6 separate regions of the Homo sapiens genome follow, and all the other regions are linked to region 4. The links are contacts of gene promoters, found by promoter capture Hi-C in blood cells and fetal thymus (Javierre and others, 2016). All regions are on one chromosome and are shown on one strand. Each heading gives the region's core, a stretch centred on a gene start or on the middle of the fragment in contact. The rest is flanking DNA. Distances are from core to core; before and after follow the strand shown. Region 1 holds the start of PPP4C (protein phosphatase 4 catalytic subunit). Region 2 holds the start of ARMC5 (armadillo repeat containing 5). Region 3 has its middle 15 kb from the start of ALDOA. Region 4 holds the start of SRCAP (Snf2 related CREBBP activator protein). Region 5 holds the start of MAZ (MYC associated zinc finger protein). Region 6 holds the start of GDPD3 (glycerophosphodiester phosphodiesterase domain containing 3).

Region 1 (4,745 bases), core at 759-3,258, 620 kb after region 4:
CCAGGCGTGGTGGCGCGTGCCTGTAATCCCAGCTACTTGGGAGGCTGAGGCAGGAGAATCGCTTGAACCTGGGAGGTGGGGGCTGCAGTGAGCTAAGATCGCGCCACTGCACTCCAGCCTGGGCGACAGAGCAAGACTTCATCTCAAAAAAAAAAAAAAAAAAGTGAGGTGCTCTTGCCATGTGTTCAGTATTTCTTTATGACTATGAGGACTTAAATATTTTTTATTTCTCCTTGCAGTGCAGTCTACTTCTACTTGAGTGAGCAGGAGATGAAATCACTTTGCCAGGTAAGACACCCAATTTTTTTTTTTTTTTTTTTTTTTTGAGACAGAGTCTGGCTCCATTGCCCAGTCTGGAGTGCAGTGGCGCCATCTTTGCTCACTGCAAACCTCTGCTTCCTGGGTCAAGTGATTCTCCTGCCTCAACCTCCCGAGTAGCTGGGATTAGAAGCATGTACCACCACGCCCAGCTAATTTTTGTATTTTTAGTAGAGTCGAGATTTCACTATGTTGCCCAGGCTGGTCTCGAACTCCTGACCTCAAGTGATCTACCCACCTTTGCCTCCCAAAGTGCTGGGATTACAGATGTGAGCCACTGCACCCAGCCTATAGATACCCAATTTAAGCAACACTGTATTTCCAAATTTTGCCTGGTAATAGCAGCAGTGAACATTCGAGCTCATACTGTGTGCCACAAATGTTATTAAGAGCTTGGCAGGCAGGTACTATGATGATTCCCGGTACACAGATGAAGAAATTGAAGCAGGGAAGGAGGCTGGCTTGGTGCCAGTGACACAGGTGGGATATGAACCAGGGAAGCCTGGCTCTGGGGTCTGACTCTTTATCAAGATATTCTGATGTGGGAGGCCCAACTCGCCTGGCCCCCCTCTTTCTGCCAATCTCTTCCCTTAGAATGAGTTTCCTGAGCTCAGTGGACAGGAGGATTCACTTATGCCCCTTGCTCTGTATGGCAGAGGCAGCACGAAGGAGGTCTGCCCTGGCTTTCTGGGAACAGAAGGCAGCACTGGCGGTGGTCCAAGAGGCCACATCAGTACCCGGACTCTCCCACCTGCACTGCTTCTTGTGCTGAACATCCTTCCCCATCAACTGCTCATAGTGACCTTTCCAACAGACTGGGGAGGTTCTCTTCAGCCTCACGTAACAGTAAAGAAACCGAAGCTAGGCCGGGCGCGGTGGCTCATGCCTGTAATCCCAGCACTTTGGGAAGCCAAGGCAGGCAGATCATGAGGTCAAGAGATTGAGACCATCCTGGCCAACATGGTGAAACCCCGTCTCTAGTAAATATACAAAAATTAGCTGGGCATGGTGGCGCGTGCCTGTAATCCCAGCTACTTGGGAGGCTGAGGTAGGAGAATCACTTGAACCTAGGAGGTGGAGGTTGCAGTGAGCCAAGATCAGGCCACTGGCACTCCAGCCTGGGCAACAACAGCAAAACTCTGTCTCAAAAAAAAAAAAAAAGAAAAAAAGAAACCAAAGCTTACAGAAAAGCGGGAGGGTCAAGGTCACCAAGCTGGAGAGTGGCTAAATTGGAACCCAGAAGCCCAATTTCCTGAGAATTTATGCCAGCCCCTTCCACAGACCCTGAGTGAAAACCTGAAGCCCAGGGAGGTCACATGCAGGGCCCGTGCTCTCTGCAAAGCCCCCCTCAGTGCCAGCGCAACCCCAGTGTGGCCTGGGAATCAGGCCCAGATTCCAGCCCCAGTTCTGCCACTTGCAGCACTTCCCCAGCCCTATCAGGACCTGCCTGCAGTAACGGCTACCAGCGCAGCAGGCCCTGTGCCCGGATACCCGGACTCTCAACTGCATGTCATTATCACTTCAAAAAATCAGAAAGTGACTTGACGAGGGTCATATTGCTTCTAGGTGACAAGGCAAAGATTCATACTGAAGACCACCTGATTCAAAAGCTCAGCTCTCCTACTGTGCTAATATTTCTAGTAGCAGCAATTTCAGCTCAGACACTGCGGACCTCTGTGCTTCCACTGGTTTCATCTGCATGTCTGTGCCCTCTAGGCAAGCTGGTGCTCTTGACACCACCAGCCTCAGCCTGGGTCTCTGATGGGTCCCCAGGAGGCCATAACCAGGTATCAGAGATGGCCCTGCTTCAGACTGAGCCTGGGACAACAGCGGCCAACTCAGGCCTTGGCCTAGTACCTCCTAGTTCCACTCAGTTTCAACTGGGCAGGACCCTCCACCCCTCAGCCTTCCATGGCTTCCTGCTGCCTCACACCCCACATCAAAATCTAAATGCCTCTGCCTGGCTCTCAGTGACCACGGAGCACAGTCAAAGACCTGGATGCAAAACTAACTTCCCCTCCGACTAGCTGCGTGATGTTGGGCAAGACATTATCTACTCAAAGGCTCAGTTTCCTCTGCTATGAAATGGGGCTAAGTACTCAGCCCACCCTGCGTATTCCTTAGGCTGTTGCAAGGAGCCATGGAGACTGAATATACGACTTCCTGCTATTCTGCAAACTCCAGCATGCTATCTAAGCTTTGTCTACCATCACCACCACACTGATCCAGGGCCCGTGAGGGAGACAATACTTCGAGGTTAAAGAATAGTGCCAGGCAACAACAGGTTTAAGTTCCTAAAAATGCCAATCAGGACTGAGGGAAAGGGGACAACTAAAAACACCATGGGGCTGGTCTGGTCAGCTGGCAAAAGAGAAAAGCCACAGACAGGTGGCGAAAAAGAGGCCGACCCTGCTCATCATCCCCTCACAGGCCCTGTCTGGCTGCAGGTAGTCTATGTGAGGCAGGGCCAGGCAAAGAGCCTGAGGGCCACAGATTCAGGACCCAGCTCTGCCACGTCCTCAGTGGGTGACCTCAGTTAAGTCACCAGACCTCTACGAGTCATGGCTTCCTATTCGATAAAATGCAGCAAATGATTCCAACCTCATAGGATTGCTGGGGGGAAGAGATGGATAGAAGTTTTTTGCCAGTACCGGGCCAGGCCAAATAGTGGCCCTGTAAAGGCCAATGTTTACTGTTCAATAAACGTAGGGTAATTCTGTGGGCTCTTCTGCCACAATTCTCCAGCCTGGTAGAAGCCACAATCACACAGTTCCCCAGAGGAGGCAGGTAATTAAACCCCTGACTGTTCCCCACGCATCTCAGGGCCTCCACTGTTACATTCGTCCTGCTTGGAATGCCCTTCCCTCACTGGCCCTGCCTCCATCAGCTAGCCAAATTATCTTCATCCTTCAAGGCCTACCTCCACTCAAAAGCCCTCCCTGATGGCTTTAGCCCATCTCATTATTGCCCTCTTCCAAAAGAAATAGAATACCTGGTGATTATCAAGCACGTATGCTGTACCAAAACACTGTGCTAACCTCATCTCCAGCACCAACTCACTGAATCTTCACAATCATCTTATTAAGTACTATTAATTCTGCTTTACAAATAAAGACACTTAAGATTACTAACACAGCTAGAAAGCGGCAGAGTTCAGATTCAAACCTAGAGCCATCTCACACTGCAAAACCTAGAGCCTTAACCACTACATCATCCTACTTCCCACAGAACTCTGAACTGGCCTCCCTATCGTGCTTAATTCTACCCTGGCTTACTTGCTACGATTTCTCAGGCTCCCACCCTGAACGTGAATGATCCAACTCCACCTTTTTGCATTATGGCCTGAAAAAGGACAGGACACTAAGAGCTGGCTTCAGACCCCATTCCTTACTTGTGGGTAACTTTGAACATGAAAGTTCCCACCTGTAAAATGAGTACAATACCACCAATCTTTAAGGGTTGTTGTAATTAGAAGACTTTTATAAATCACAGGGTCTTTAACTTTCCTGTCTTAAACTTTTGGTTTTTGGCTGACTCTTTTACCACCTCCTTATTCGAGGCCTCTCCCACAGTTCGGCCCCCCTCCAACAAGCTTCCGTCCCCCGACAGATGGACTTGTTTCCTTGAGTTTCCTAAGTACTTTATGTAACACTCTTACTCCACTGGAAACACATCGTCTAATAAACTTTAAGTGTCTTTATCCACTCTGTCTTCCCCGAGCAGGCTAGCTTTTCCTCGAGGGCAGCGGCTCCATCCTGCTCCTCTCTGGGAAAGCTTCCAGAACGAGGCAAGCCCAAAGTTCTCAGTTGGGTTTGCCCCAGGCCAGAACCCGTGGGCGGCGGCTTGGCCTCCCTTCCCCAGGGCCAACGAGCTCACCTGGCCTTAGCGCACAGGGCCTTGACTTCGCTCTCCTTGATGAGCTCGCAGCGACGCAGCTGCTCGATCTGCCGGTCCAGGTCGCTGATCTCCGCCATGGCCCACCCCCGGCGCGGGTCAGAGTCGGGGCCGCCGCCCCCTCCGCACCGCACAGGGGTCTCCTGGGAAAGGCCAAGACGAGCCCGCGGATCAGTGTCCGTCCGGGGCTCGGAGCGGACAACTCGATTCTAGAGCCGGCCCGGCTCCCCCACCCCCGCCTCCCCTCACATCGGCCCCAGGACCCCCCGGCGTCCAACGGCCTGGCCGCACCCCCGCTAACTCCCGTCGAACCCCGCGGTCCCGCGCTAAGGACGGTGACTTAGAGGAGTCTCGCACTATTACCGCCGCTGCGACTCCGGTTCCGGCTCTCCGGCTCCCTGCCTCCCTCTTTCACTCCGCTTTCGACCGCCGCCGCCGCCGCCGCCGCCGCTCCTACTTCCGGCCCCGCCGCGGAAGCAAAGGAGGCCAGTTCCGCCGCGCGCCGGATGTGGCGTCATACACGCTCCTCTCCT
Region 2 (4,488 bases), core at 517-3,016, 760 kb before region 4:
TCAGGTTTGGAAGCAGCCTTTCCAAAGGCCCAGAGGTAAGATACAGTGTCTGTGAAAGGCTTCAAATGTCAGGCCAAGGGGTCAGGACTTGAATGTGAAGGCACTGGGGGCCACACAAGGGTTTTATGAAGGGGAGTGACACGATACAATCTGACATCCATAGGGAGAATGCATTATGGGGAAAGAATAGGAAGGGGGGAGTCAAAAGGCTGTCATAATAGTCCAAGCATGAAAAGACAATAGCTTGAACCAACCCAGCTACTGGCATCACACAGCACAGAGATACCAGTCTCTGGGCACACAATGGAAGTAGGAAGAGAGAGAAGCAGATAAATTCAGAAGATATTTAAGATGAAAAATAGTAGCTGAATGATGGGGGTTATTTAATAACCAAAGCTCTTGTCAAACATATATGGTCCAGATACATTTTATGTAAATTTTAAATATATTAATGCTTCCCTTTATCCGAAAAGTTAAGATGTCATCAAAACTAGCATAATTTCGTGGAAGGCAGGTAGTGACATGTAAACTGCTTTCACACATTGCCACTAGGAGGCACCAATTTAGCTGGTAAACAGAAAAGCTTATGTTTTGCTAGGATTTGTTCTTACTGTGCTGGTTTTAATTATTTTTATTTATTTTTTCCTGCTTCCTAAGCGACTACTGATTTGTTTGGTTTTCTAAGATACGAGGTCTTGTTACGTTGCCCAGGCTGGAATGCAGTGGCTATTCACAGGCAGTCATTGTTCACTGCAGCCTCAACCTCCTAGGCTCAAGGGATCCTCCCGCCTCAGCCTCCCAAATAGCTGGAACTACAGGCGCGTACCACTGCACCCAGCTTATGCTAGTTTTTAATAACTTGAAATACGTATCATGCTTAGAATATTTGCATATTCGTGCCATATTTGTACTTCGTTTTCTCCCCACTCTGATTTTTTTAGGTAGCTATTATTGCCCCATTTTACAAGGAATCCTAGCCTCGGAGGGGTTAGGTGACTTTTGCAGATCTCCCTTTCTGAACCACTACACCTTCCAGCTCATCAGTGGGGCTTCAGAACCTTGCACAGGGCCGGACACATAGTTGGGCACTGAATGTCTGCTATGAACATCATAACTGGACGGTAAGAATCATCTGAAAAAATCACCAAATAACTCTTTGGCCTCCGCTAGTCCAGCTTCGAAAGAAGTCCTCAACAACCAATTCCTAGATAATGGCTACAATTATCTGGTCTGGGAGGGCTCTCTCTCATCTATAGAGAGTGCAGTGACGTCACGGGGCACAACAGATTGAGAAACAGGAGCGATGCGCCATCACAAAGCACGTTATTCCGGGATAGGACACAAAGAACTCCAGACTGCCCGGGTCTAGAGAGCAAGGGAGTTGCAAACCTAATCTTTCTAGGAAACGGGGGCGGAGCACTTACCCAAAGGGAGTATGCCTCCGAGTCTGCGCACTTCGGTCCGGCACGCCCCTTCCGTACAGCAATCGGCTAGGATGCTGAGCGCCAAGTCCAGCGTCTTGCGCAGGCGCACTGGCGGCGTAGGACTAGACGACGACACAGCGGAGGGGGCGGGGCCCGACGCGGGGGCGGGGCTAGAAGCTCCCGACGCGGCCGACGAGGGGGCGGAGCCGGGGCCTGCCTGGGACGGGGCGGAACCCGCTGCAGCCGCTCGCCGTAGCAGCGCGAGTAGGGGGCGGAGCCCGCCGCGTGCCCGGAAGCGCTCGATTCCCCCCGCTGCCTTGATGTGGCGCGTGCGGAGGGCTAGGAGCGCGCGGCTCAGGGGTGTCTCGTTGGTCGCTGGGTCCTTTTCCCCACCCAGAGCCTCCCCGGCCGCCGCCGCGAGCTGCGCGAGGCAGAACGAGAGCGAGTCCGTGAGGGTTGGCTTCGCAGCCGCCATCTTGGCTCGGGCCTCAGACTCCGCCCCGCTTCTCGCCGCTGATCCCAGGGAGCGGAACTGGAAGACAGGGAAATCGTCGGGCACCGCCTCGCTGACGCTGTTTAGCGCCACCGCAGTGATGCAAGTCGGAAGTTGTAGTTCTCGACCCCGGAAGTCTGTCCTTGCACACGAGGCGCGGCAGTACCTTAATCGCAGCGCATCCTGGGACGTGCGGGCGGTGCATGAGGGAGATGTGGTCCGCGTCGAGCTTCTCACGCCTACCTCGGGAAGCGCTGGAAACTCTTCCAGGGCCCTCCAGGTGGGCCAGGGCCTCCGAACAGCCCAGAAGTCCGACCACGGAGCCTTCGTGCCGTGCCCCGCCCCCGGCGTGCACTCGGCGGGGACCGCCTTTTCTCCTCTAGGCTCGCTTCGCTGCCCCCCAGCGGTGGTGCGGCCCGGCCTTGGGACGGACTCCGAGAACCCCGAGCCGGGCCGAAAGTGCGGGGTCCTGACCGCGCCGCAGACGGGGAGCCCTCGCTCGGTCAGAGGAAGAAGAGGGTTAAACCTACCGAGAACGTTCGCTGCCGCTTCCTAGAGTGACGGGCTTGTGGAATTTTCCGTTTCCGGAGCTGGACCCCGGTGTCCCGAGTGTCCTCCGCTCTGGACGTGCTCGTGAGCTCAGGAGCTGGCATCTAGGAAACGGGGAGTTCTTCACTCGCAGCGCAGTCGGCCGCGCCAGAAGAGGCGAGGGAGAATCCGGACGGGGCGGGGCGGCGGGGGAGCGGGACATTCGCGTCCCGGGGAGCCCCCAGGTCACCCCTGGATTGCGAGGTGGCTCCGCCTGAGCAGCCCTTCCTGGTGTGGTCGGGGCAGCTGCCCGCCCGGAAAATGGTCAGGCTCTAGCCCTGGGGAGGAAGAAGCCTTTGCCAAGAGCAACCGTCTACAAGCCCCAAAACCTGCGAGTGCCGGAAATGTGGACTGACCACAGCCTGCCTCCCCGGCTTCATTCACCACCAAGGCAGCCCCTCTGGTGACAAGCCTTACCGTTGTCCGGGTTATGGCAGAAGCTTCCGATGTGGCTCTGATCTGGTTAAGCACCACTGGGTACACACCGGTGAAAAGCCGTACTCCTGCCCCGAGTGTGACCATCGCTTCGGCCCTATGCCTGTGCCTAGTGTGGTAAGACTTTCAGCGTCAGCTCCAACCTGATCCAGCACCAGCGCGCTCACACCGCTAAAAGCCTTACCGCTGAGGGGACTGCGGCAAGAGTCTCAGCCTTGGCTCCACCCTGTTGCAGCACCTGCGCTCCACATGGGTGAGAAGGCCTCTAAGTGCCTTGTTTGTAGTAAGAGTTTTGTGCACAGTTGGAATCTGCTGCGGCACCAGCACAGTCACAAAGTCCGGAAACCTGATGCTTGGTGGTGAGTGTGGCCAGACCTTCGGCCACAGCTCCCACCTGCCCATCCACTAGGCGGCCCACAGCAGCACCCCTGCGTCTGCCTGCAGTGTGGCAGGGCCCTAGCGCAAAGCTCCAACCTGGGCCAGCACCAGCGGACGCACTAGGGCGGCAGCCTCTGCAAATAGCCCTGGCTTCAATTTTAGCTGAAACTTCAGCTCTGACTTTGGTTCGGACTTCAAGGAAATGGAAGGAACCAGGATCTCTAAGCAGACCCCCTTCTGCTCCCTTAGGGCTGTTGATTTTAGAGCTAATGATGGGATTCGGTTGGGGCGAGGGGGTCTCCACATCTTTTTGCCCAACCCTTTGCTAAGTCAAGGAACCCCAGTCTGGGCTGGGCATGGTGGCTCATGCCTGTAATCCCAGCACTTTGGGAGGCCAAGGTTAGCGGATCACTGGAGGCCAGGAGTTCGAGACCAGCCTGGCCAACATATTGAAACCCTGTCTCTACTAAAAAAAAAATGCTAGGCGTGTTGGCTCTCGCCTGTAATCCCAGCTACTCGGGAGGCTGAGGCAGGAGACTCACTTGAACCCCGGGAGGCGGAGGCTGCAGTGAGCGAAGATCGTGCCACTGCACTCCAGCCTGGGCGACAGAGAGTGTCTCAAAAAAATAACAAATTTAAAAATTGTTTTTAACAAAGGAGCCCCAGTCTGGAAGAATCAGAACACTAGATCTGTGATCACTGCCTTCAAAGAGCCCAGTCAGCTGAGAGGGCTTAGGTTTGTTCTTTGAAGTTACAAAGACAGAACGTCGACCAGCTGAAGGGAGAGTTTTGGAATGGCGGGAGCTATCCAGCGTGGACCCAGCTGCCTGCAGATCTGGCAGTAGCTGACACAGTCCCTTCACAGGCCTAGGGAGTGATGGGGTTAATCACACCTAGAACAACAGCTACCTCTTCCCAGAGGAATGGGACCAGAAATCAGGCAAGCCCCTGTGAGGAGTTCCATGGCAGCGCGCAGGCGGGGCATTCCTAACCTCCAGAGGGAACCATGAGGGATCCTGTGTTCTGGCAGATGGGCCAGAGAATTTGAACTTGGGACCATTGTGTGAGCCCTGGGTGTGTGAGCCCTTCAAAAGTCCTCTCAGCACGTGAGAACTATCATTATGGATGATGCTAGGGTGGTGGGGGCCCCAGAACAGACCTGTATGTTGA
Region 3 (4,269 bases), core at 1,174-3,673, 650 kb after region 4:
TGTTTGTACGGCGGCTGCCGAGGCCCAAACTCCCTCTTCCCGCCTCGCGCCTCCCTCTTCCCGCCTAAGCTTCAACTGTCACCGGCTCTGCGCCGCCGCGGCCCTCGGGGCTTTCTCGCGGGGAGCGAAGGGGAAGAGCGAATCCCGCCGCCGCCCGCCTGGGTCGGATCCTCATCAGATGCCGGACGTTGGAGGAGGCACCGGGTTCTGGGGCGCCACAGGAGGATTGAACCCCCAGGCTACACCCACCACTTGGATGTATCTCCGGCCAAGCCACTGAGCATCTGCAAAAGGGAGAAACGCCTGCCGCTCAGGGATATTGTAAACATCAATGCTACTTTTTATATTTTATTTATATTTATTTATTTATTTATTTATTTATTTATTTATTTATTTTTGAGACGGAGTCTCGCTCTGTCGCCCAGGCTGCAGTGCAGTGGCGCGATCTCGGCTCACTGCAACCTCCGCCTCCCGTGTTCAAGTGATTCACCTGCCTCAGCCTCCCGAGTAGCTGGGATTACAGGCGCGCACTACCACACCCGGCTAATTTTTGTATTTTTAGTAGAGACAGGGTTTCGCAATGTTGACCAGGCTGGTCTCGAACTCCTGACCTCAAGTGATGCGCCCGCCTCAGCTTCCCAAAGTGCTGGGATTATAGGCGTGAGCCACCGCGCCGGGCCCGGTTCTTTTTTACTGATTTATTTATTAATTGATTTATTTATTTTTTGGAGACAGATTTTCGCTCATCTCCCAGGCTGGAGTGCAATGGTGTGATCTTGGCTCACTACAACCTATGTCTCCTGGGTTCAAGCGATTCTCCCGCCTCAGCCTCCCGAGTAGCTGAGATTACAGGCGACTGCCACCACGCACACCTAATTTTTGTATTTTTAGTAGAGACGGGGTTTCACCATGTTGGCCAGGCTGGTCTCGAACTCCTAACCTCAGGCAATCCCGCCCGCCTTGGCCTCCCAAAGTGCTAGGATTACTGGCATGAGCCACTGTGCCCAGCCTTTTTTTCTGAATTTTTAGAGATGTGGTCTTGCTATGTTGTTAAGGCTGGTCTTGAACTCCTGGGCTCAAGCAGTCCTCCAGCCTCAGCCTCCCAGGTAGCTGGGATTACAGGCATAAGCCACCTTCAGTAGGATCTGCTGAAGCTTCCTGAACCAGTGTGTAGGGTCTCACATTTCCACAGCTTTGCAGTTGCTGATCCCTCTGCCTGGAACACCCTCTGTCTTCCCCTCAAACCTCTTCCTCATCCCTCAAGCACGTCCTCAGTTTTGCCTCTGTGAGGTCTCCCTGCCAACCTCAGGCAGAGGTGGCTGCTTTGGACTGTGAATTCCCACAGCATCCTACAGATACTGTTGTTCTCGCACTTCTCACAAGATACTTGAATTCCTCACTTCCATGTCTGGCTCCACAATTAGACTGCAAGTGTCTGGGGCCTGGTCTGAGTCATCTCCGTATCCTGAGCTCTAGTACTTGGCCTAGCCCTGGGAGCCTTGGTGAATACTCACTGATTCTTTTTCTTTCTTTCTTTCTTTTTTCTTTTCTTTTCTTTTTTTTTTTTTTTTTTGAAACGGAGTTTTGCTCTTGTCGCCCAGGCTGGAGTGCAATGGTGTGATCTCAGCTCACTGCAACCTCCGCCCTGGATTCAAGCAATTCTCCTGCCTCAGCTTCCAGAGTAGCTGGAAGTGCCACCATGCCCAGCTAATTTTGTATTTTTAGTAGAGACGGGGTTTGTCCATGTTGGTCAGGCTGGTCTCGAACTCCCGACCTTAGGTGTTCTGCCCGCCTTGGCCTCCCAAAGTGCTGGGATTACAGGTGTGAGCCACTGCGCCTGGCCTGTTTTTTTCTTTTAATAAAGTAGACATGGGGTCTCACTATGTTGGCCAGGCTAGTCTCCAACTCCTGCCTCAAATGATCCTCCCACCTCGGCCTCCCAGGTTGCTGGTATTACAGGCCAGAGCCACTGCACTCAGCCAATACTCACTGATTCTATGAATGAATTGAAACCAAACACCATCCACGAATGAAGCATTGTTTTCCACACGTCCTAATTTCCTTGGCTTTCAAGGCACTCAGACCTCCCCGTTTCATTCCTAACCTTTTTAGATCACACACACACAGACACTTGCACACACCCACACATGCACGCTCACACAAGCACCCCTCTCTATGGAGGCCTCCGACTTCCTAAACGATGGCTGAATCCTGGCATTTTCCCCTAAAAACAATGCCACCATATACCTATTTTTGTCCATGTTCTCCACCCCAACATACCTCACCACAGCTGCTGCTCCTGGGGTTTCCTACACCATGAGGCAGCCACGGAAACTGCCAGGGGCTGTGTCCCTGGATCCAAATCTTCCCTCCCACTGTCAACCATACTGAGGTGGTCTCAGCCACCCTCTTGGCCACCCCTGGCCCTCTCAGAGGGCGTTTCAAGCCCAGAAAACAGAAGTCTAGCTGTTGCTAATGTCACCATTATTGATCCTAAAGAAGATTGTCTTCTTAGGCTGTCTTCCGGTTTTTGTTTTTGTTTTTGTTTTTTTTGAGACAGAGTCTCACTCGGTAGCCCAGGCTGGAGTGCAATGGCACAATCATGGCTCACCACAACAGCCTCGACCTCCTGGCTCAAGGGATCCTTCCACCTCAGTCTCCCAAGTAGCTGAGACTACAGGTGCATGCTACGACACCCAGCTAATTTTTAAAATTTTTTGTATAGACGGGGTCTCACTGTATTGCTCAGGCTGTTTTTGAACTCCTGGGCTCAGGCGATCCTCCTGCCTCAGCCTCTCGAATTGCTGGGATTACAAGCGTGAACCACTGTGCCCGGCCTTGGGCGGTCTTATTGTCTGATGGAATCCTGAGGACCAAGTTGAGGCCAGTTCTCACCTCAGCCCTACAAAAGGCCTCCAGGAACACATATTCTGCATATTCTGCCAACAGAGAGACTTCAGCCTTGGCAAGGCCCCTGGACACGTCCGTGGCCTGCAGTGCCCAGACTCGCTGGTGCTGGTGTTTTGTTCCTACCATGGGCTCATACATTATGCAGGAGCACGGGCAGTGCCCCAGGCTTGTGTGTTGCCAGGCAAGCCAAGACAAGGGATGATGTATGCACCCCACTTTGCCAAGGCCCCATTTCTTTTCTTTCTCTTTTTTTTTTTTTTTGAGATGGAGTCTTGCTCTGTTGCCCACGCTAGAGTGCAGTGGTGCGATCTCAGCGCACTGCAACCTCTGCCTCCCAAGTTGAGTGATTCTCCTATCTCAGCCTCCCAAATAGCTGGGATTACAGACGCATGCCACCATGCCCGGCTAATTTTTGTATTTTTAGTAGAGACAGGGTTTCACCATGTTGGCCAGGCTAGTCTTAAACTCCTGACCTTGTGATTTGTCCACGTCGGCCTCCCAAAGTGCTGGGTTACAGATGTGAGCTACTGCGCCTGGCTGTGCCGAGGCCCCACTTCTATCCACATCACAACATTTGCTGGGGGCAGAGAAAAACTGACTTCACAATAGCCAGCTAACCGCAAAGTCTCCTCTCCCGAAGTTGGAAGCTGGAGATGTCAGATGTATCATATGTAGTTCCGCACTTCCCCTAGGAAAGGGCAGACAGGATTGTATACTTCCAATAATCGTGGGGTGGGTGGGAGATCAGAGATGCAGAGTTCCCAGAAGATGAAAGAAGCTTCAGCAGGCTTGGACGTGGGAAGGGACCTGGCAGTTCTGATTCTGATCTAATACTTTCAGCTGCCTCCAATGGACATCCAACGATATCATCTCCCAGAGATTAAGAAGAGGTTCACCAGCCTCCTTAGTATAAAATGAAAGGCTTGTGTTTAGGTAATTACCCTGGGGGAATAAAGAAGCAGTGCTGAGCTAGAGCTGGTGTCAACAGAGGCCTCTCCACAGACTTTATCTTACTTAATCCTTACAGGAGGCACGAGTGGCAGAAACAATTACTTCCATCTTATAGGTTGGAAATAATAATGGCCCAGTTGGAAACAAAACGAAAAAAACCTTTAGGCCAGTGCAGTGGCTCACGCCTGTAATCCCAGCACTTTGGGAGGCCAAGGCAGGCGGACCACCTGAGGTCAGGAGTTTGAGATCAGCTTGGCTAGCATGGCAAAACCCCATCTCTACTAAAAATACAAAAATTAGCTGGGCATGGTGGCAGGTGCCTATAATCCAAGCTACTTGGGAGGCTGAGACAGGAGAATTGCTGGAACCCATGAGGTGAAGGTTGCAGTGAGCCAAGATCGCACCACT
Region 4 (4,791 bases), core at 649-3,148:
TGGAGATAATATTACACTAATGTTAAATGGAATGTGAGTATCCAACAGACCTGATATACTACAGCCCAGCCCCCGAGCACCAAAGATTCTCCAAAACTCTCCACAAATATTCCCCTGCCACATTTCTTCTGCCTCACACTCAACAATCCACAAAGCAGAAGCAGAGAAGGAACTCTTCCCACTTTCAAACCTGTGTCTGTAGGACTGGGAGCTGAGGGTGAGCAGGGGAGGGGCTGCTCTGCATGGTCCCACTCCCAGGCTCCCCCTTGGATGCCTGAAGAATGACTGGGTTGTTATCACCAGTACTGCTGGCCGAGGGGCTGGCGTCCGGCTGCAGGGCATGCTGGGAGCTGGCCTCATTCTGGGCCACCGGCCACCGGGACCCGCCTTCCAGGGCCCGGGGCCCACCAGGGCGTCCCAGCCTCCGCTCAGGTCCACCAGCCTCTGGAGCACCTAAAGTAGGGTTAAAAAAAAAAAAAAAGACAGAAATGCAGTTAAAGGGGATGAAAAAGTATTTTTAAAAAACCAGAAATAACACTGAATAAAGAGAAACACAGAAATTACAGGTTACATTTCTTGAGCACTTACTATGTATAAGATACTTTTAGTACCTGTTTGATGTGTTCTATAATCCTCACACCTACCTTAAAAACCAAGTGCTTTTCACAGCATAACAAATATTGACTTCCTCCTACACACAACGGATATAGCCATGCAGAAAGGATTCCCGACCTAAATGTAGCTTACATTCTAATATAATCTGTTTTGTAAGTTACGAAGTTAAGACCTTATGATTTGCGGAAGGTTACACAGTAAAAAAGTGATAGGAGGGCTTCAATCCACAGTCTGATGCCAAAACCAAGGAAAACCTGCTACTCTTCCTGGTAGAGCCAGGTTGACCACGTTTTCCTCAACCCACAGCCTCAGTTCTGTTGTTGTACTATAATCAAACCCTCTACAGAAAAATCACATGCAAACATTCCCATGCTTCTCTAGAGTGAAAATCCCCAATACGGACCTATAATTGCTTTATCTCAAACATTTCTCCCATTAGCATCAGCACACAAAATGGTAGCAGATCCCTCACCTGTGTGAGCTGAGACCACACCCCCTGTGAAAGTCTGCACTTCCACGGTGCCGCCGTACTGAAGGGAATCACACCTGAAACATCCATCAAAGCGTATTATTTACTCCAGTTTTTTGAGACGTTTAAATATACCCAAATCAGTTAAAAGACTAGAAACAGAAAAACTACAGTAGTAGGAAAATCTCACATTTCAGGGAAATGCAAATCATGTTTTGTGAATTCCGGAGGGACATACGATCCTGCCTGGGGGCAGGAGCAGGAAAGGAGTGAAGAAAGAAAGTTCAAAAATTTTAAGTGTAAAGGCTCCAACCACAGAATGGAAGACAAAAAAAAAATACAGCAAAAAAAAGCTGTCACATCCAGAACCTCAGAAAGGTGCTACCTGCCTGCGGGCCTTTCCAGTGAGGGCTGAACGCAGAAGTGAGAGTGGAACTCCCGGGAAGAGTCAACAAACAGGCTGGTCACAGGAAAATCCGCCCAGGATTCAGGGCAGGGCGCTGTATATCCCATACCTGCGCCTTGAGACACTTCCCCAAATACAAGAACCACAGCAAAAGGAGACTCAGGAGCAGTCAAAAGCGAGAGGCCGCACTGCCAAGAACCACGCGCCGGAAACAGGCAGTGTGAACCCGCAGGAGGCCCGGAAATGCTTCCCCAGTGTTTAAGGAAATTCCTAAACCACAGTGCCGGCTTTGATTCACTCCCTACTCCGCCACACGTTCCCAAGACCCGAGCTCACCAGAAGCCAACAAGCCTTAACTCTTGACTTCAGGTTTCGTGACCATCTCCCTAGCCCTCCCGACGGACTGACCTCGCGTGACCCCTGACCTCTGCCCAAGTTGCCACTAGCCCTGAGATAGCCCCGCCCCCTCCAGACTCCCACCCCACCCAACGTGCGCGCCGGGCGGGGGAGGGGCCCGCGCGTGCGCGGCTGGAGGCGGAGCGAGCCGGCTGCGCGCACGGCCCAGGGGCTCCCGCCAGAACCCGAGCCCACGCACACAAGGGTCGCGGGGCTGGGAAGCTCGTCATCCAAGCCCGTCAGGGAGCCCCCCCATCACCCGACCGCGAAAGGCTGAGAGAAGGGAGGGTTCGTGCCACCAGGTCCTGGTCCCCCGGCTAGATGTGGTGGGCGCGCGCCCCGACTACTCGTCCCACGCCCCCCTTCCTCTTCCCGCGCGCCCCTGAGGGGTGACTGGGTTGGTGGGCGGGCAGGAGCGCACCTGGGTCCGTCCTCTCAGGGCTCGCTCGCTCGCTCGCTCGCTCAGGCACGCGTGCGCAGAAGGGCGGGAAGGGAGAGGAGACACGCCGGGGCCCAGCGCCGGCCGGCCTGACCCCCTCAGTCTGTCTCTATGGGCGCGCGCCGACAGCCTCGCGCACCGGCCCCGGGGCCCCGGCTGAGGGTGCGCGCGCAGCACCCCGGGAAGGTGGGGGGGAGGCGGTGGCGGAAAGATGCGCGCGCAGTCAGCCGTCATGGGAGGGGGAACTGTGGGGCGTTCGCCATCTTGTCTCCCTCTCCTTACCTGCGTCCTCGGGGGCGTGCGCACCACCCCCCCTCCCGCCTAGGAGGGGGGAGGGCCCCCTCTTGGCCACCGCCTTCGCGGCCTTTAAACTCCCCTGGAGACTGCGGCTACTGCCACCGCCTTGCCTCCACTGCCTCTTCGCGCAGCACACAGATGCGGACGGTGGGTGGGAAAAAGGGCAGACGCTACTCCCAGCGAACCGCCGCTGCCGCTCCCGAGGCCTCACCAAAATGGCCGCCGCCGTCTCGGCCGCCACCACCACCACTACCACCACCACTCGCTCGGAATCGCTATCGCCGGCGCGGCCCGTCTTCTCGCGAGAGACAGTAACTGGAGGGTGGGGGAACGGGGAGGCTCGCGTGCTAGCGTAGGGTGCAGCACGGTGCGCAAGGCAGCCTGGGAGGTGTAGTCTCCCAGAGGCTGCGCGCTCGCCCTTCCTCGGAGCGCCTTTACCGTTTGCCCCTAGATCTACCTGGGGCTGCATTGCGGCTGCCAGCTCGGACCACCGCCACCTCCCTTTTTATTTACAGATCACCCAGTAAGCTGCAGCAAGTTAGCAGTGGAACCTGGGCCTCCCGATTCCCATGGCAGCCCACTTCTGTAGCGCTGCTTCGTTTTACGCGAGGATGGTTTCCTGATAGCTTTCAAACACCTTTGCCATCTCTTCGCAAACTTTCTAGATTAAGAATCCCTTTGAGAATCTGATACCTTTACCCCAGAATAGAACAATAAATAACAGCTACCTTCTACTGACACTACTTGGTGCCTTGATTATTTCTTTTAATCCTAACTGCTCCATTTTACAAACGAATTGAGGCTCAGGCGTTAAAACACAGTGACAGATCCTGAAGTCAAGATTCCTAGCCAAGCAGTCTAAGCCACAAGAATGCACTCGCTGTCATAAAATTTTACCACCTAAAGCCCCCGCTAAGAGGCCAGGTTAGGAAGCCCTGATGAAGCTCCCCTTCCTCCATTCAGTTTAGCTCTTCCCTGCGAAGAGGATTGTTGGTCCCATTTTACAGATGAAGTTTGGGTTGAAAGAAAAGTGGATGATGCCCATCTTTTCTAGACCCTCCTCCCATCACCCCCAGAAGAGGGGATCCCAGGCCAGAGCCTGAATTGGACCTAGCCTTGTGCCATTAACTCCTTGCTATGTGACCTTGAGCAATTAACTTCACCTTTCTGAGCTTCAGTTTCCTCTGTAAAGTGAGGATAGAATTGCTGATGTAAAATTGCTTTGAAAGATCTAAAGGGCCAGGTGCGGTGGCTCACACCTGTAACCCCAGCACTTTGGGAGGCCAAGGCAGGAGGATCACTTGAGGCCAGGAGCTCAAGACCAGCCTGGGTAACATAGTGAGACGTCGTCTCTACAGTAAATTAAAAATTTTAAAATTATGAAAAAATAAAAAAGCTCTAAAGGACTACCTAAATGTGGAGTATATTTCACTATAGTTCAGTGTTTCACACCCATGATCTTAAGGTCAAGGTTAGCTTTCTGATGTGCTTTACATAGTATTTATTTATGTATTCATTTGTTGAGATAGTCTTGCTCTGTCACCCAGGCCGGAGTGCAATGGCACAATCTTGGCTCCCTGCAGCCTCTGTCTCCCGGGCTCAAGCAATTCTCATGGCTCACCCTCCCAAGTAGCTGGGATTACAGGTGTGCACCACCACACTCAGCTAATTTTTGTATTTTTGGTAGAGACAGGGTTTCACCATGTTGCCCAGGCTGCTCTCAAACTCCTGACCTCAGGTGATCCACCTACCTTAGCCTCCCAAAGTGCTGTGACTACAGGTGTGAGCCACCGCCCCCAGCTGCTTTATATAGTTTGTTTTTTGTTTTTCGTTTTTTGTTTTTAGAGACAGAGTCTCGCTCTTTACCCCAAGCTGGAGTGCAGTGTCACGATCTCTGCTCACTGCAACCTCTGCCTCCCGGGTTCAAGCAATTCTTATGCCTCAGCCTCCCAAGTAGCTGGGATTACAGGCACTGGCCACCATGCCCAACTAATTTTTGTATTTTTAATAGAGCCGGGGTTTCTTTTTTTTTTTTTTTTTTTTTTTTGAGACGGAGTCTTGCTCTGTCCCCCAGGCTGGAGTTCAGTGGCTCAATCTCGGCTCACTGCAAGCTCCGCCTCCCAGTTTCATGCCATTCTCCTGCCTCAGCCTCCCGAGTAGCTGGGACTA
Region 5 (4,511 bases), core at 1,479-3,978, 890 kb after region 4:
AGCCACTTGCAGGGTTGACCCTCAGCAGAGACGGCTGTGTCCCCTTCCCTCCAGTGCCCCGCGGTCTCAACCCAGTTAACCGGTGAGTCTGACTGAAGGCAGCTTTCTCTGCTACCCGTGCAGGGTGCGTGCTGGTAAAGCCCGGCCCGTGTACTCCACCTGCCCCAGGAGCTGGAGACAAGACCTTGTGGCTGCGCAGCGGAAACCTTGCCTTGTGACCCCTGGAACTGGCTTTCTTGACTACTCCTTCCCCAGAGCAGCCAAGTTCCACTCCCGCTTTCCCCACACATTACCAGGAGGTTCAACCTCTCTGGCAGATCATCTCTTCCAACCAGGACTTCTTAGAGTCTAATGATGTTCATTCAGGTGTCCCCCCGCTGCTCCCTTGACCTCTTGTAGGAATCTAGACGCCACGAGCTCTTGGCTACAGCACCCTTAACCCGTATCCGTGGCAAGGCGTCTGGCCAGGCGCCCACCCTCTGCCCCTGGCCCTCCCGGCAGCCCTCGGCATGTACCTTTGTTGCAGAGCTCACAGACATGGTGAGGACCCTGGCTGTGCACCTTCATGTGGTCCGAAATATAAGCCGAGCTCAGCATCTTGCCACACACGTGACATGGCACTTTCTCCTCGTGTCGTACTGTGTGCGCCCGCAGCCGATCCTTCGTGGCGAAAGCTGCCTCACATTTCTGAGGAGGGGGGAGGGGCGTGGGGGGTGTCACAGGAGAGTTAAAGCTTGGTGGGCTGGGGAGGGGGGAGCAAGAGATTAAAGGAATCAGAGCCTTGGGGATCTTTGATCTGTAGGAAATGGGAGTGACATGATGAGGCCTTGAAGAAGGGATGAGAAAATGGAGCAAAAAGGCAAAAAGAAGAGAGAGAAAAAGGGGGTCTGAGAGACTGACTCAGACAGCTACCATGAGGATCAAAATCATGAAAACCAAGACAGGAGGAGGCGGGCTTCCTACCTCACATTTGAAGGGCCGTTCTGTTGAGTGCACTTGTCTGACGTGACTGTTGAGGTGATCCGGCCTGGGGACACGTTGGGGTTGGGGTTAGGGCGGAGGTGGTGCGCCCCAAATCCACCAAACCGCACCACAGGCCTTTCCGAGGATCCCTGCGCCTCCTCCCGGAGCCCAGGCCGTCACAGCGACACTTAAGCAGGAAATCCCTCCCCTGGAGCCCAGCAGCCGCTGCCGCCGCCGCCGCCTCCTCCCACGCGAAGCTTCCGTCAACCCCAAGGCCCACCTCCTCGACAAAGGACCACCCCTTGCTCCCTGGTAACCGGGAGAGGCTTCCTCCCTCCGCCCTGGGAGTGGCTCCCCTTCCCCAGCCTCAGCAGCCGCCTCCCTCCCCGCCAGCCACGGCCAGGCCACCTCCGTCGCGTCCCTCCCTCCCCACGGCCTAGCGGGCGGCCGAGGCCCCGTGCACACCGGGAGAAGCTCTTGCCACAGTGGGAGCAGTTGTAGGGCTTGTGCACAGCGCCGTCATGTGAGCGCACGTGGTAGCTCATGCGGTCCTTGCGCTTGAAGCGCTGCTGGCACACCGGGCACTGGTAGGGCTTCTCGTCCGAGTGCGACAGCTTGTGTCGGTTCAGGTGGTAGACGTCGCGGAAGGCCTTGCCACACATCTCGCAGGCATGGTTCTTCCGGATGCGCTTCCCCGAGGCGGTCGTGGTCACCACGCCACCGGCGGCCACTGCGGCAGCGCCGCCGCCGGCACCCGCCTCTCCCCCTCCCCCGCCGGCTCCGCTCAGCTGGGGCACGCTCAGGAGGCTCAGGGGCACCATGGTCGGCATCTTCATAGCACCCGAGGGGACCCGGCCGGCCTTGGCTCCCGTGTGGATGGCTTCGTGCCTCCGGAGATTGTAGCCGTTCTTGAACTCCTTGGCGCACAGAGCGCAGATGTAGGGCCCCTTGCTCTTTGTCTTCTTCTCCAAGGCAGACGCGACCGGGGCCACGGCGACCGTCGAGGTTGGGGCTACGACGGCGGTGGCCGCCGCCGCGGCGATAGTGGCGGCGGAGGCGGGGGGCGCGGCCTCGGCCGCGGGCGCCGACACTGGCGGGGGTGGCGGAGGGGGCGCCGGAGGCTGCTTCAGGGCCGCTGTGTCCACCGTAGAGGCGGCGGCAGGGGCCGGGGGCGCGGCAGCGACGGCGGCAGCAGCGGCGGCAGCGGCCGCAGCAGCCGCGGCGGACTCCTGGGCGGCGGCGAGCACCGGGAGCAAGTCCACCTGGAGGGGCTCGGCCGCCGGGGCCTGGGGCGTGGGCGGGGGCGCCGGCGCGGCCTGCGGAGACAAGGCGCCGAGTGGGCCGCGGGTGCGGGCGGGCGTCCCCCCCCAGCCCGGGCCGCCGCGGCCGGCCCTACTCACCTGGAATGGACTCTGGGCGCAGCCCTGGGAGGCAAAGAAGCGGGACTGGAGCTCAGCCCCGACCTGCAGGGGGTTCTGGGCGTGACCCTGAGGTGGCGGGAAGGAGTTCATGAGGCCGCCCACCCCCCGGGAGTCCAGGCCCAGCACGGGGAAGGGGGGGGCCAGCAGCGTGCAAGGAAACACCGGGAACATGGCCTCGGCCGCAGCGGGGCCCCCGGGGCTCAGCGGGGGCCGGGGGCGCGGGCCGCGCGGGGCCCGGGCTCGGGGCGCCGCCCCCGGCCGGCCGGGCTGGGCCGCGCCGAACGCATGGCCCGCGGGCCGCCCCGCCGCCCGCGCACCCCGGCCGGCGGGAGGGAGGAAAAGAGGGCGCCTTGCGGGCCGCGGAGCGCCGCGGCGACGGCGGCGGCGACGCCCCCTGGGTGGGGGCGGGAGGCCCCGCGGGGCCGGGGCCGGGGGCGGGGGCCCGGGCGGCGGCGGCGGCGGCGGCGGCGGTTGGAGCCTGGCGGGGCGGGGTGGGGGGAGCGAGGGAGCAGCCTCGGCCCCCGCCGCGCGCGCGCCCAGCCGGCGCCTCGGGGAGGGCGGGGGAGGGCGCGAGGGAGGGAGGGGGACAGCTGCGCGCGCACCGGGCGCGCGGAGGGGGGGTGGGACGGGAGGGAGGGCGGGCAGGAGGGGGTGTGGGCAGGGGGGTGGGGGCGGGGGGAGGGAGTTGTTACCTGGAAGATGAAGCTGCTCCAGTTGCTGGGATCCATGGCGGAGGGAGGGAGGGAGGTGGCTCGCGCTCACCCTGGGGCGGGAGGAGGAGGCGGCGGCGGTGGGGGAGGGGGAACCCGGGAGGAGGCGCGCGGGGCGGGCAGGAGGGGGGAGGTGGAGGGTGGGGGAAGCGGAGCACACTACGCGCGGGGAGGGCGGGCGGGGGGCGCGAGGACACACAAGAGGCTGGAGCGGGCGCGAGCGCTAGCGCGAGCGCGCGCGTGGCCAGCGGGAGGGGCAGGCGCGAGAGGGACTCTGGCGGGAGGAGGGACGGGGGAGCCACCCAGCAGCCCGAGTCGCCCCGAGCGCGAGACCCCTGAGACGGCTGCTGATTGGCTGACGATGGCGCAGGTGGTGGGCGCGCGGGAGACAGGGCGGCTTCTCTCCTCTTCCCCCCGCCAACGATTCCACTCCCCCTCCCTCCGCCAGCGGCCGTTATTTCGCGCGCACGCGCACAAGGCCGCCGTCGTTGCCGAGCGGGAGAATGGGGGAGCGCGCGCGCCGGGGGCACGGACGGGGCGGGGCTAATCCCTGAGCGCGCGCCCGCCTAACGGTCGCAGGCCTCATGCTTCGGCTTCCGCTTTTTGCGTCCTGCAGGCCACCGTCCTCCCCGCCCCACCCCAGCGGTGTATTTACAATCCTGCGCTGAGTCGTTCCCCGAAGATGGCGCCCAGTGGAGTCGCCTGCCTTGCTCGCGGCCCACCCCGAGGCGGTCACACCCCGGTCCCGCCCCCGCAGCCCCAAAAATCAGGCGGAAGCACCGGAGCAAAAACTGTATTTACACAACACGGGGTTATACAAAAATTTGAAAAGGCGGAGTGAGGAGACGACGGTCAGGAGGCGCCACAGCGCTGGCCGGCGGCGAGACCCAGGATGTTTGCCTGCAACACAGGAGGGAGGGAGACAGCGACGTTAGAGAGGGGCGCGGGGCGCAGGACAGGCAGAGGAGGGGCAGGGCCGTGACTTCACCTTCAGGAAGGACTCCATCTGTTTCCCCGTTATGCCCTCCACGCGTTCCAGGTCCTCCACCTGGCGGGACAGGATCGATAGGGGACAGGGTCTCGGGGGTACCCGGTCTCCCCCGCCCCCGCCCTCCCCCAGTCCAGTGGGCTGCTACCTGGCTGAAGGGGCCGTGGAGCTCCCGCCAGCCCACGATTAGCTGGGCCTTCTTCGGGCCAATGCGCTGAAGACTGCGGAGATCTCGGGCTGAGCCTTCGTTCAGCAGATCCAGTATTTTTTGGCGCCCATGAGCCAGTAGCTCCGGGCTGATCTGTAGCTCCCAGCAGTCCTCAGCCTTCTCCTCAGGCTCTAGGGCATCCAGGGACTCCAGCTGGGAGGCAAAGGGAGATGAGTGACACGCAGGGCAGCCAAGTGCTTTGGGCTCCTCTGCCAAGACTA
Region 6 (4,370 bases), core at 1,016-3,515, 590 kb after region 4:
CCTGGACTACAGAGCAAGACTCCATCTCAAAAAAAAAAAAAAAAATGCCCAAGGCTGCCCAGACTGGTGGCCCACCGAGTCCTCCAGCCCCAAATGTCTCTGCCTGTCAACACCTTGCATCCTCCAGCCCCACAAGCCATTCTAATCTCCTTCTAGGAACAGAACTGGCAAAGAGGCAAGAGGTCACTGAGGGCCTCTGTCACCCAGGTGAGGACCTGAGCCAAGCTTCAGCTCTGGGTGTGGCAGAAGCAGGTGGGGCCATGATTGCTTTGGGAGGGGCCCAGCAGCGCCCAGCCTGACCCAGATTGCCAGGCCTCCTCACACCTGCTGCCAGATCAGCAGTTCACATAGCTGTGGGGACCCCACTGGCCTGCCCCCACCCACGCTGCCTCCTTGCCTCCTCCGGTCTCTTCCTGTCTTCAGCCAGGTGTGGCCTGATAGAAAGAAGGCATGCGCACCTGGGCTCAAACTCCAGCTGTGCCACTTAGTAAGTGCTGTGTGATATTGGGCAAGGCACCTCACCTCTCGGCGCCTCAGTTTCCGGAGTCAATCTATTTATCTTTTTTTTTGGTTTTGTTTTTTTGAGACAGTGTCTCGCTCTGTCACCCAGGCTGGAATGCAGTGGTGCAATCATAGCTCACTGCAGCCTCAAAACTCCTGGGTGCAAGGGATCCTCCCAGCTAGCTGGACGAGCCATTGCAACCGGCTAATTTTTTTTTTTTTTTTTTGTGGAGCTGGGGTCTTGCTATGTTGCCCAGGCCAGTCTCAAACTCCTGGGCTCAAGCGATCCACCACCTCAGCTTCTCAAAGTGCTGGGATTATAGGCGTGAGCCACTGTGCCCGGCCGAGACAGTTCTAATAATGAAAGCATAAAGCCCTAAGCATTGTTCTAAGAGGTTTACATGTATTAATTCCTTTAATCTTACAGCAGTACCTCAAGCTAGGTACTATTATTATCTCCATTTACAGATAAGGAAACTGAGACCCAGCCTATCCAGCTGTGAGGGTGAAATGAGAGATGTTGAGGTCAGGGCTCCAGTGGGTCTGCCCGGGGGGTGCTAACGACTCCTCTTCTGCCTGCTTCTCTCTTTAGGACCTGCCTCCTGCCTGCCCCTCTCCCGCCAGACTGTTAGAAAATGGACACTGTGCCCAGCCCGGACCTTGGCAGCCCAGGCCGGGGTGGAGCATGGGCCTGGCCACCTCTCTCCTTTGCTGAGGCCTCCAGCTTCAGGCAGGCCAAGGCCTTCTCCTCCCCACCCGCCCTCCCCACGGGGCCTCGGGACCTCAGGTGGCCCCAGTTCAATCTCCCGCTGCTGCTGCTGCGCCCTTACCTTCCCCAGCGTCCCAGTCTCTGGCAGTTCTGGAATGGAAGGGTTCTGGCTGCCCCAACCTGCTGAAGGGCAGAGGTGGAGGGTGGGGGGCGCTGAGTAGGGACTCAGGGCCATGCCTGCCCCCCTCATCTCATTCAAACCCCACCCTAGTTTCCCTGAAGGAACATTCCTTAGTCTCAAGGGCTAGCATCCCTGAGGAGCCAGGCCGGGCCGAATCCCCTCCCTGTCAAAGCTGTCACTTCGCGTGCCCTCGCTGCTTCTGTGTGTGGTGAGCAGAAGTGGAGCTGGGGGGCGTGGAGAGCCCGGCGCCCCTGCCACCTCCCTGACCCGTCTAATATATAAATATAGAGATGTGTCTATGGCTGACCCTGGCTCTGTCTGTGTTCGCGACGCCCCCGCCCTGCCCCGTGCGGCTCTGAGGACAGACTTGACTTGGGCTTTCAGGGGCCTGGTGCCCTTCACTCCCAGCTGCCCAGGGCTGGGGACGGGGCTCTGGAGAGCTCCAGACTCCTAGAAAGAAGGGGGTCAGTTTTCCCCTTAGTCACTGTCCTGTCCTCTCGCTAATGGCTTCCTGTCTAACTGGCTGGGGGTGATTCGGGGTGACTCAGGAGCACCCTACACACCCCTGGATCCTCTGAAATGGCAAGGGGTAGGCATGTTGGATGCGCTGGCTACAAGTACCAGTGAGAGGGAGAGGTCCTGACAGTCCTGGGTGGTTTTTACTCCCCTCATGTAGCCCAGGACGGGGCTGCTGGGGGCTGGGAAGGGCCTGGGGATATGAGAGCCAGGGCTACTTGCCTCACCTCCTGACACTACCCCAGCTTCAGCCGAACCCTGCAGCCTGGCTCCAAGCCAGCCCAGCGGCAGGCTCAGCAGGTCCCAGGGGCGTGGCAGTGGCCAGTAGTAGAGCCGGCCCACACTGGCTAGGCAGGCAGCACAGTCCCGCGGACGGCTGAGCGTGTGGCTGCAGGAGCTTCTGTGGGAGTACGGTCATGAGCCTTTTGCTGTACTATGCCCTCCCTGCCCTGGGCAGCTATGCCATGCTCTCCATCTTCTTCCTGCGCCGGCCTCATCTGCTGCACACGCCCAGGGCTCCCACCTTCCGCATCCGCCTGGGGGCCCACCGAGGAGGTGAGCCGGGTAGGGGTGAGAACAGGTGCCAAAGTGGACAGCACAGAGGGGTAGGTCCAAGGGGGCATGCTAGAAACGGGGCAGGGACCAAGAGAGAAGGAGAGCGAAGTGGCAGGGCAGGGTGTGGACGAGGAAGAAGATGCTGGCGCAGCCTGGGCTGGCTGGGGAGGTGAGGCCAGAGGGAGGATGGAGCCCAGAGAGGGAATGTGGGTGATGAGGTTGGGCCAGGCCCCTAGACCCCAAGCCCCAGAGGCCCACTCCAGTGCCCCCCACAGGATCTGGAGAGCTGCTGGAGAACACCATGGAGGCCATGGAGAAGTGAGTGTATCTGCCCCTGCCCAGGCTGCCATGTGAGGGTGTGCAGGTCGTGGACTGCATCACAGCAAGGGACGCCATTCACTTCCTAGCTGGGTGACTGGCGCCCCCTGGAGGTGGCCTGCACATCCCGCCACGAACTCCGCTCTCACATTCCCGGCCACCTCCCAGCCACCATGCCCCTCATCCCAGTCCCCTGCCCCTGCCCCCCGCTGACCTTCACCCCCACAGCTCCATGGCCCAGCGCTCGGACCTCCTGGAGCTCGACTGTCAGCTGACACGGGACAGAGTGGTGGTGGTGTCACATGATGAGAACCTGTGCCGCCAGTCGGGCCTAAACAGGGATGTGGGCAGCCTGGACTTCGAGGTGGGCCCTGCCCTGACACCCCAACCCCCACCCTGAGAGTCACCATGCCCAATGCGGGCCTCTAGTGACATCCTTCCTGTCCTCCCCAGGACCTGCCCCTCTACAAGGAGAAGCTGGAGGTTTACTTCTCTCCAGGTGAGAGCAAGGGCTTCGAGCCCTGCCTGGGCCATGCCTGCCTTCCTTGGACCTCCGCCTTGGCTTCCCTCTGACCCCTTTTCCCACACCACCCCCAGGCCACTTTGCTCACGGGTCAGACCGGCGCATGGTTCGTCTGGAGGACCTGTTCCAGAGGTTTCCAAGGACACCCATGAGCGTAGAGATCAAAGGGAAGAACGAAGAGCTCATCCGTGAGGTGGTGCTGCAGGCAGGGCTAGGGCGGCCACCGGGGGCGTGAGAGAGGCCTGGCTCTCCCTTCACCTCCTTCTCCTCCTCCCAGATAGCAGGCTTGGTGAGACGCTATGACCGTAATGAAATCACCATCTGGGCCTCGGAGAAGAGCTCGGTCATGAAGAAATGCAAGGCTGCCGTGAGTCCCCCCACCCCTCCCCCGTCCTCTTCCTCCTCCAGGGGCCCCTCCTCCCCAGAGCTGGAGCCCACCCAGCATGGGGACCCGAGCTAGAGGGGTCTGGGAGAGTTCCCAGTGGCGTGGCGGTGGCAATGAAAAGGGTGTGAACTCAGGCCTCGAACACAGAGCCAAGATGTGACTTTTGTTTTTTTTCTTTTTTGAAACACAGTCTCTCTCTGTCGCCCAGGCTGGAGTGCGGTGGTGCGACCTCGGCTCACTGCAACCTCTGCCTCCTGGGTTCAAGCGATTCTCATGCTTCAGCCTCCCGAGTAGCTGGGATTACAGGTGCACGCCACCACGCCCAGCTAATTTTTGTATTTTTAGTAGAGATGGGGTTTTACCATGTTAGCCAGGCTGGTCTTGAACTCCTGATCTCAGGTGATCCACCTGCCTCAGCCTCCCAAACTGCTGAGGTTACAGGCGTGAGCCACCACACCCAGCCCCAAGATGTGACTTGGATCCTGCAGGTAGTAGGGCCTCTGGAATGCCCACCACGGCTCCCCTGCAGCTCATGCCTCCTCTCTGCTTCCCCAGAGCAGACAGATTCTCATGCCTCTCCTTGCCTCCCCAGAACCCCGAGATGCCCCTGTCCTTCACAATAAGCCGAGGATTCTGGGTGCTGCTTTCCTACTACCTGGGGCTGCTGCCCTTCATCCCAATC

What was found. Contacts are between HindIII fragments. The CHiCAGO score rates a contact against its expected background, and 5 or more counts as called.
Region 1: a contact is called between a fragment that was not itself captured here and the fragment with the promoter of SRCAP in region 4, in 2 of 17 cell types (fetal thymus and naive CD4 T cells). The highest score is 6.8, in fetal thymus.
Region 2: a fragment that was not itself captured here is called in contact with the fragment with the promoter of SRCAP in region 4 in 1 of 17 cell types (erythroblasts); the score reaches 5.1 in erythroblasts.
Region 3: a fragment that was not itself captured here is called in contact with the fragment with the promoter of SRCAP in region 4 in 2 of 17 cell types (fetal thymus and total CD4 T cells); the score reaches 8.6 in fetal thymus.
Region 5: a contact is called between the fragment with the promoter of MAZ here and the fragment with the promoter of SRCAP in region 4, in 1 of 17 cell types (erythroblasts). The highest score is 5.8, in erythroblasts.
Region 6: the fragment with the promoter of GDPD3 here is called in contact with the fragment with the promoter of SRCAP in region 4 in 1 of 17 cell types (total B cells); the score reaches 6.7 in total B cells.

What each region holds. Positions count from the first base shown.
Region 1 is chr16:30,075,925-30,080,669 of GRCh38, reverse strand. PPP4C (protein phosphatase 4 catalytic subunit) reads right to left here and starts at 4,676. Exons shown (of 9, transcript NM_002720.3): 1 at 4,576-4,676; 2 at 4,195-4,355. The coding sequence starts at 4,292. RefSeq lists an enhancer at 4,063-4,152 and a silencer at 4,263-4,402. The HindIII fragment of the contact is 1,018 bases long and covers 1,500-2,517 here.
Region 2 is chr16:31,456,936-31,461,423 of GRCh38, reverse strand. It overlaps ARMC5 (armadillo repeat containing 5), which reads right to left and starts at 1,923. Exons shown (of 6, transcript NM_001105247.2): 1 at 1,425-1,923. The coding sequence starts at 1,899. RefSeq lists a silencer at 1,375-1,724 and enhancers at 1,915-2,254, 2,253-2,793, 3,441-4,009. The HindIII fragment of the contact is 2,362 bases long and covers 586-2,947 here.
Region 3 is chr16:30,048,826-30,053,094 of GRCh38, reverse strand. It overlaps a transcript of TLCD3B not described here. Among named protein-coding and RNA genes, the nearest start is that of ALDOA, 15 kb to the left of the region's middle. RefSeq lists a silencer at 4,250-4,269. The HindIII fragment of the contact is 2,534 bases long and covers 1,157-3,690 here.
Region 4 is chr16:30,696,278-30,701,068 of GRCh38, reverse strand. It overlaps SRCAP (Snf2 related CREBBP activator protein), which reads right to left and starts at 1,898. Exons shown (of 34, transcript NM_006662.3): 1 at 1,827-1,898; 2 at 1,088-1,161; 3 at 191-453. The coding sequence starts at 244. LOC730183 (a long non-coding RNA gene) reads left to right here and starts at 2,009. Exons shown (of 2, transcript NR_144637.2): 1 at 2,009-2,188; 2 at 3,138-3,362. RefSeq lists silencers at 1,878-2,107, 2,248-2,657 and enhancers at 1,827-2,121, 2,778-2,967, 2,998-3,087. The HindIII fragment of the contact is 7,629 bases long and covers 1-4,791 here.
Region 5 is chr16:29,804,746-29,809,256 of GRCh38, reverse strand. MAZ (MYC associated zinc finger protein) reads right to left here and starts at 2,728. Exons shown (of 5, transcript NM_002383.4): 1 at 2,364-2,728; 2 at 1,429-2,279; 3 at 964-1,027; 4 at 516-687. The coding sequence starts at 2,555. KIF22 (kinesin family member 22) reads right to left here. Exons shown (of 14, transcript NM_007317.3): 12 at 4,231-4,443; 13 at 4,083-4,142; 14 at 3,873-3,994. The coding sequence ends at 3,947. It overlaps MVP-DT (MVP divergent transcript), which reads left to right. Exons shown (of 4, transcript NR_186424.1): 4 at 124-613. RefSeq lists enhancers at 938-1,177, 3,748-3,797 and silencers at 1,258-1,927, 2,828-2,967, 3,098-3,437, 4,178-4,227. The HindIII fragment of the contact is 3,714 bases long and covers 1,223-4,511 here.
Region 6 is chr16:30,111,432-30,115,801 of GRCh38, reverse strand. GDPD3 (glycerophosphodiester phosphodiesterase domain containing 3) reads left to right here and starts at 2,265. Exons shown (of 10, transcript NM_024307.3): 1 at 2,265-2,462; 2 at 2,738-2,780; 3 at 3,009-3,144; 4 at 3,234-3,279; 5 at 3,378-3,496; 6 at 3,581-3,670; 7 at 4,281-4,370. The coding sequence starts at 2,324. It overlaps MAPK3 (mitogen-activated protein kinase 3), which reads left to right. Exons shown (of 9, transcript NM_002746.3): 9 at 1,094-1,697. RefSeq lists a silencer at 2,000-2,294. The HindIII fragment of the contact is 12,096 bases long and covers 228-4,370 here.